Regions from separate parts of the Homo sapiens genome. Here region 1 is linked to region 2. The links are contacts of gene promoters, found by promoter capture Hi-C in blood cells and fetal thymus (Javierre and others, 2016). All regions are on one chromosome and are shown on one strand. The core of a region is centred on a gene start or on the middle of the fragment in contact, and the rest is flanking DNA. Distances in the headings are between cores, read along the strand shown.

Region 1 (3,508 bases), core at 85-2,584, 230 kb after region 2:
CCTTCATTTTGGCGTATTGTTTTCTGAGCTCCAACATTGGCAAAAGGGGTTCCAAGCCGAGATGACCTAAGAGTACAGGCCTGAGGAGTGAGTGGTGTCCCCGCCATACTGAGGTTCTGAGTCTGGGCCCAGGACATGGTTGCACCGAAAGGCAGGGCAGGAAAGGGGAGCTGGGTTGGAGGGGGACAGACTGAGTCTGGGGTCCAGCGGGCAGTTGAAACTGCTGGTGAGGACATGAGGCCAGTTTGAATCCAAGCAGCCTGGCTTCAAACTCCTTGTTCCGGAGGAGGAACCGCAAGTCCTCCCAAGGCCTTGGAGAAAAGTGAGCTAAAGGCAGAACGTGGGCCGATAACGTGGGGGCGTGGGGGGACCGCGACCCAGCCCGGGGAAGGCGTCCCAGCATGGACCCAGCAGCCTGGGCAGCCTGGGCGGGAAGTTCTGATCGCGCTCTGCCGAATTGGCAGGCGCAATAAGTAAGCGGAAAAACCAGGATTCAAACCAACCACCAACACCCTTCCCTGGCGTTCAGACCGAAGGTGGGTGGGAAGGCCCTGGCGAAGGAGGTCTGCATCAGGCCTGGCCTTGAGGCGATCCCTTCTCACCCCAAACCTCCTGGACGCTGAGCAAGCCCCTTCGCCTGTGTGGGTTGCCCGGCTGCCCTCTGGGGAAAGTTGGGTGATCAAATCCCAAGTTGTAGCTCTCGATGGGTCGAGGGCGATGGCCAGCGCTGTGCTGGGAACGGGCAGCCCTGCCCTGCCCTGCCCTGCCCTGCCCTGCCCTGCCCTGCCCTGCCCCACATGGGCGCAGGAGGCCTCCGCACGCGCAAGGGCCAAGGGCTGGAGGGGGCTCTCCCGGGCACAGGCACCGGACCCGGGGCGCGCGCGCGCGTCCTTAGTCCCCGGGCTGCACTCCGGGCCGCTGAGAGATCGGGTCCCAGAAGTTCCGGGAGTGGTCGGGTGACCCTGGAACTTTCTTCTTCTGGAGCCCGACCTGGGGCTGACTGCAGAGCAGGCTGCTGGCAGGGACCAAAAGGAGCTCCGCGCCAGGCCGGAGGCTGCGCCCGTCACTCGCGGTCCCGGCCGGGTCCCTGGCGCGTAGTCAGGCCGCACCGCCCGAGCCCCACCGCGCGCCCACCCCGGCCGGGTGCGTCCGGCTCGCGGCCGTCCCTCCCGCGACCTGTGGCCCGGGGCTGCTGCGGGCGCCCGGGGAAGAGAGGCGGGGGCCGCGGGGGGCAGGAGGAGCGGCTGCGGCCGGCACAGCGCCAGGGCGAGTGAGGCGGGTGGCGCGGGGGAGGCGGCGGAGTAAAGAGAGGCCGCCGGCTGGGTCCGCGGGTCACTCCGAGGCGCGGGCTGCGGGCGGCGGGCGGCGGGCGCACCATGCCCTCCTTCGACGAGGCGCTGCAGCGGGTGGGCGAGTTCGGGCGCTTCCAGAGGCGCGTGTTTTTGCTGCTGTGCCTGACGGGCGTCACCTTCGCCTTCCTCTTCGTCGGCGTGGTCTTCCTGGGCACGCAGCCCGACCACTACTGGTGCCGCGGGCCAAGTGCCGCGGCGCTGGCCGAGCGCTGCGGCTGGAGCCCGGAGGAGGAGTGGAACCGCACGGCGCCCGCCTCCCGCGGCCCAGAGCCCCCCGAGCGCCGCGGCCGCTGCCAGCGCTACCTCCTGGAGGCGGCCAACGACAGCGCCTCCGCCACTAGCGCTCTCAGCTGCGCGGACCCACTCGCCGCCTTCCCCAACCGCTCGGCTCCCCTTGTGCCGTGCCGCGGCGGCTGGCGCTACGCCCAGGCCCACTCCACCATCGTCAGCGAGGTAAGGGCGCCCCGGCCCTTTGGAAGCCGGCGGGAGAGGACGATGCTGGCTCCCAGGCGGACAAGCCGCGTGTGAGACGCTGGCCGCCAGGGGAGGTCGGTGGAGACGGGGACCGGTCGGCTACCTCTGGGGACAGACAGGATTCAGCGCACCCTTGGAAGTGCCGCGTCGTAAATGCTGGGAAAAGCCTTTCGTTATCTGCCTGAGCCCGTGAGTTAATGCACAGATACTTTGGTTTCGGGTGTGAACAAAAACTTTCTTCGAAGCCGAGTTGTAAACGCCTGGCGCACGCCTGCTCAGGAGTCAAAGACCCAGCACCGCGTTCCTTATCTTTGAGGTGTGCGGGCGCCGTCATTGGAAATTATGGTTAGGTGCGCGATAGGGAACTTCAGTCTCTGGGGTGAGCGACGTTGGCAGTTCCGGATTCGCTTATGGTCTCCAGGGTCAAAGGAAAGGGCGAACCAACGTTTGAAGGCAGCAGCAGCTTTTTTCCAGTTGCCCAAATGGTTACTCAAAATGCAAGGGGACAAAGGTCGAGGCTTTCCCGGGGAATGGTTTTGGTAAAATTGCTTTGGGGCAAAGAGCAACATCTGGGATAAGTTGGGAAAACTGAAGTATTGGATAAATTTTAGTTTTTTTTTCTGGTAATAAATTTTAGGAACATAGCGGGAGGGCCACAGCCTTCCAACGCAAATCCCCAACCCATTTACAGGCGGAGGCTGCTGCCGGCGGGTGGGCGGGGGCGATCCCCACATTTTGGGCAGTCAGTGCATTTGGAAGTTAGGGGAGCTTCCTTCACCCTTGCCCTCAGTAATCTGTTTCTGCATCCTTGCTGAAATGGAAGATTGCCTCTCTGTGAGGTCCAGATATAGAGCAGAGTCACTTTGTAATAATCGGAACTCAGAAACGGCCTCAATTGAGCATGGGTTGCAGAGATGAGCAGTTTTACTGAGCTTTGTCTACAATCACAGCTTAAGTTAATTTTAAAAAAAGATTGAATGTGATCAGGTACATTAGGAAAAAAGGTTTGTCTTTTTTTTGTGATAAACTTTAAAAAATCACCTACTTGAAGAGTGGGGAAAACACTGGATGAGGAGGTAGGAGCGCCCTTTCTGCCGCTGTTGCTGTTGGTCTGGTGAGCTTATCTCGCTGCAGTTGGGAGTGTCGGTGGTTGCAATTGTACATGTTTTATACGCCATGTGCTGGTGTGTTCGCACAGTGGATGGCTCTATGCTATGTGCTCCAGGGATAAAACCCATGGCAGGACAGCCAGGCGATGTGTGTATGTGTTTGGGATCTTTCTGTAACGCCGTGTGCTGCTGTGTTCGCACAGTGGATGGCTCTATGCTAAGTGCTCCAGGGATAAAACCCCCTGGCAGGACAGCCAGGCAATGTGTATGTGTGTTCAGGGTGTTTCTATAATGCCACATGCAAGTGTGTTCGCACACTGAGTGGCTCTATGCTGAGTGATCTCAGGATAAACCCCCCTGGCAAGACAGCCAGGCAATACATATGTGTGTTGGGATCTTTAATTTCTACTTAATCCATGGTAAGGCTGGGGACTGCTTTATAATTGGTGATGGTCTGGTTAGAGATTTCACAGTTGAAAGGACAGGGCATGGACTTGGATGAGAGAGGGCATTATCTCTGTGAGTCGCATCTGTTAGGTGGCTTCTTCCACTCCACTCAGCAGCGCTGCCTAA
Region 2 (3,348 bases), core at 638-3,137:
GAAAGAAAATTTTGAAGCTGTAAAGGCTCAAAACACTTAACAGAATTTTTGGTTACTATAAGTCATTCATTTAAATGACTCAAAGCAAAAACCTTCAGTCACTAAGAGGGAAGACCTAATTTTCCAAACAATCTAACTTTTAACCATCGCACTCCTTTTTAAGAAGTCCTTTTAAGTCTCTTATTATCCAACTTTAGCCATGCCAAATGGCCAGTTGAATTCATGGAGGGGCAGAGAATATAGTGATTTTTTTATTGTTCCTGCAACCAGTTTGCACAGAGAGAGAAACCAAAAGTCTGACTGGTAAGAACTTTTACCCTTTCGCCAGCATGTCAGGCTGCTGAGCTCCCTTCCCCTCAGCTATGGAGCCCTATTGACCCTGGAGTCCTGTTGATCTCTTGTCCTTCCCTTCTTGTGTCAGTAGCTTATTCACAAAGAAAACAAAATCTTTCATTGCATGAAAATCTTGTTCAAGTGAAAGCCAAATTTTACCCTTACATTAGTCTATTAATGTCAACCCCAATTAAAAAAAATAAAACCTTACAGAGAAATCCATCCAATCTTAATCAGTTTGATCATGAACTGAGATTGTTATAAATCTTTTATAACCTTTTACAAATTTTTTTTGTTAAACAGCATGTAAGTGCTTCAAGAAAACCTTGTTGTGCTTGTATTCCATTGTTCAACTTATGGAAAACCAAATAATATCCTTTTTAGTGTAGTCAATATGTTTACACACAGGATTCCTTTTACAAGATTAATTTTTTACAAACCTTCCATAACTTGTTTGAACCTTAAGCTTTATCTTATATAATTTAAAACAATCATTTAACCCTCTGAACTAGGCAAAAATTTACATTCCCATGCCTTCTTATATTATTTTACTAATGATACATTTTACTCTCCTTACTCACCTCACGTGTAGATCTGTTTTCAGTAGTCATCACTACATGTTATAATGGTAGCTCTTAGTAATTGTTAATTTTGGTGAAATACCCAGTAAGTTATTTTAGTTACGTACTTAGGTGCAGATGAGGTCTAACTATTTCCAGCATAGCTAGGGCAGGCCCTACCAAACTGCAAAGCAGGAAAGTTGAACAATTTTCAAAAGCCAAAGCAGTTTATGACCTTAAAGCATTTAGTCAACCTAGTTTCTGACTTGCATAATTTAGACCATGTCTATATTTTGAAGACATTTCTATTTTCATTTTACTGATAATTTAAAAGACAGCCTATTTAGCAAAGTCATACTTAAGTGAATTTGAAAATTGCTTAGACTTATTTACTTAATTTATGAACACTCTTTTACTTATAAGCCAATTTGGTAGACACAACATATAACAGTAAGTGTACATACAAGTAAACACATCTAGACATGTATACACACACACAAATGAAGAGGTGGAGCTTAAAACACCCAAATTGGGTGCAGTGTATACTGCTTGGGAGATGGATGCACCAAAATCTCACAAATCACCACTAAAGAACCTGCTCATGTAACCAAATAATACCTGTTCCCTCAAAACCTATGGGAAAAAAAAACTAAAAAAAATACTTAAATGGTATCACAGAACTAATTAGCCGAATACAGTATCTAGTACCTGGCTGTCACCCAATACTTGCCTCATACCATCACATCTAGAAAACAAGTAGATATTCTTTTTGGAAGAGCCCTGAGGGAGCTACTAGGAGGTTTGCACGGCCTGCTCTCCTGCCCTCTTCTTGCTCTGTGGCTGAACTTCAATTCTCTTCGGGCTTAGACCCCACTGACTCGCTCCCGGGCAAAGCAAACGATTTGATCAGATGGCCACGTGCATTCTTCCTTTTCCTGAAACCAGCACCATAGGGTAAAAGATTATTTCTACTTGGTTGCCTTCCAGATGTTTCACACTTGGACAGCAAACTGATTTCAAACCACTCCTTTTCAAAGATCTCTGAGGGAGACATTGCACCTGGCCACTGCAGCCCAGAGCAGGTCTGGCCACGGCCATGAGCATGCTGAGCCATCATGCCCACCGTGGATGACATTCTGGAGCAGGTTGGGGAGTCTGGCTGGTTCCAGAAGCAAGCCTTCCTCATCTTATGCCTGCTGTCGGCTGCCTTTGCGCCCATCTGTGTGGGCATCGTCTTCCTGGGTTTCACACCTGACCACCACTGCCAGAGTCCTGGGGTGGCTGAGCTGAGCCAGCGCTGTGGCTGGAGCCCTGCGGAGGAGCTGAACTATACAGTGCCAGGCCTGGGGCCCGCGGGCGAGGCCTTCCTTGGCCAGTGCAGGCGCTATGAAGTGGACTGGAACCAGAGCGCCCTCAGCTGTGTAGACCCCCTGGCTAGCCTGGCCACCAACAGGAGCCACCTGCCGCTGGGTCCCTGCCAGGATGGCTGGGTGTATGACACGCCCGGCTCTTCCATCGTCACTGAGGTAAAAAAGCCTCTGTAACATGGGAGTTCCTGGGACAGGGAGAAATATAAAGCAAATCCTATGAAGTTCAGTTCCATATCAGGAAAGAGGTAGGGGGCTATGTTTATTGTGCAGTTCGTGGGTGTCTGGCTGTGTCCCAGGCACGGGGCATTCTCTTCTCTAGTTTAATCCACCACAAACTCTGGGTCTTTGAGGAGGAAGCTGAGGCAGGAGAGAACAGCTAGCACAAGTCGGGGGCCAGGTTGCCAGGTTGCTTGAATGGGAGTTGACTGGGAGACCAGGAGCCTCTCTGCCTGCCCCACTGGCTTCTCCCAGAACTATCAACTTGCTCTGGGTCCCGCTTCCCCACCAATAGTACTGTGGGCCCCCTCCTTCTGCTCAAGAGTGATGACGATTGACCTCAATGATGGTGTTGAGGTGGCCTGGAATTGCCCTGGCTTGGAAGTGAGAATATTTGGTGGAATCCCAGCTGTGCCCCTTATTAGCTGAGCATCACTGGGTAAGTCACTGCCTCTCTAAGCCTCATTTCCTCATCAGTCAACCAGGGATGATGACGGCTGCCTCATAGGGGTGTGAGCTTCAGCTGGGATCTGTGAAAGCACTGAGCAAATCCAAACTGAGTCACACCGTGCAGTCCGATGGGGCCCATGGGATAGGGCGATGGCCTCAAAAGGGCCTTGCTTGAGTAGTTTACTTGGTTATTTGAGCATTTTGCTTTGAGAATCCTTTAGTAAAAAGTGTCACCACATTTTTTTCCCATCATGAGCCCTTTTGAAACTATTGCACGGTAACAAGTGTGGATGCTTGGTGGGTTGGAGAAGCTGTGGGCCAAAGCCCGTCAGGGGCCTTCTGTTAGTAACGAGCAGTGGCGTGGTTTTGGTGCAGGCACTGCTTCCCTGAAATAAGAGGTAACTGGGCCCTCCCTGCCT

What was found. The method cuts DNA at HindIII sites, captures the fragments that hold promoters and counts their contacts. A CHiCAGO score of 5 or more calls a contact.
Region 1: a contact is called between the fragment with the promoter of SLC22A3 here and the fragment with the promoter of SLC22A1 in region 2, in 1 of 17 cell types (total CD4 T cells). The highest score is 7.0, in total CD4 T cells.

Annotation. Positions count from the first base shown.
Region 1 is chr6:160,347,044-160,350,551 of GRCh38, forward strand. SLC22A3 (solute carrier family 22 member 3) reads left to right here and starts at 1,335. Exons shown (of 11, transcript NM_021977.4): 1 at 1,335-1,805. The coding sequence starts at 1,377. The HindIII fragment of the contact is 11,280 bases long and covers 1-3,508 here.
Region 2 is chr6:160,119,928-160,123,275 of GRCh38, forward strand. SLC22A1 (solute carrier family 22 member 1) reads left to right here and starts at 1,888. Exons shown (of 11, transcript NM_003057.3): 1 at 1,888-2,419. The coding sequence starts at 2,009. LOC124901452 (a long non-coding RNA gene) reads right to left here and starts at 1,768. Exons shown (of 2, transcript XR_007059842.1): 1 at 915-1,768. The HindIII fragment of the contact is 2,683 bases long and covers 798-3,348 here.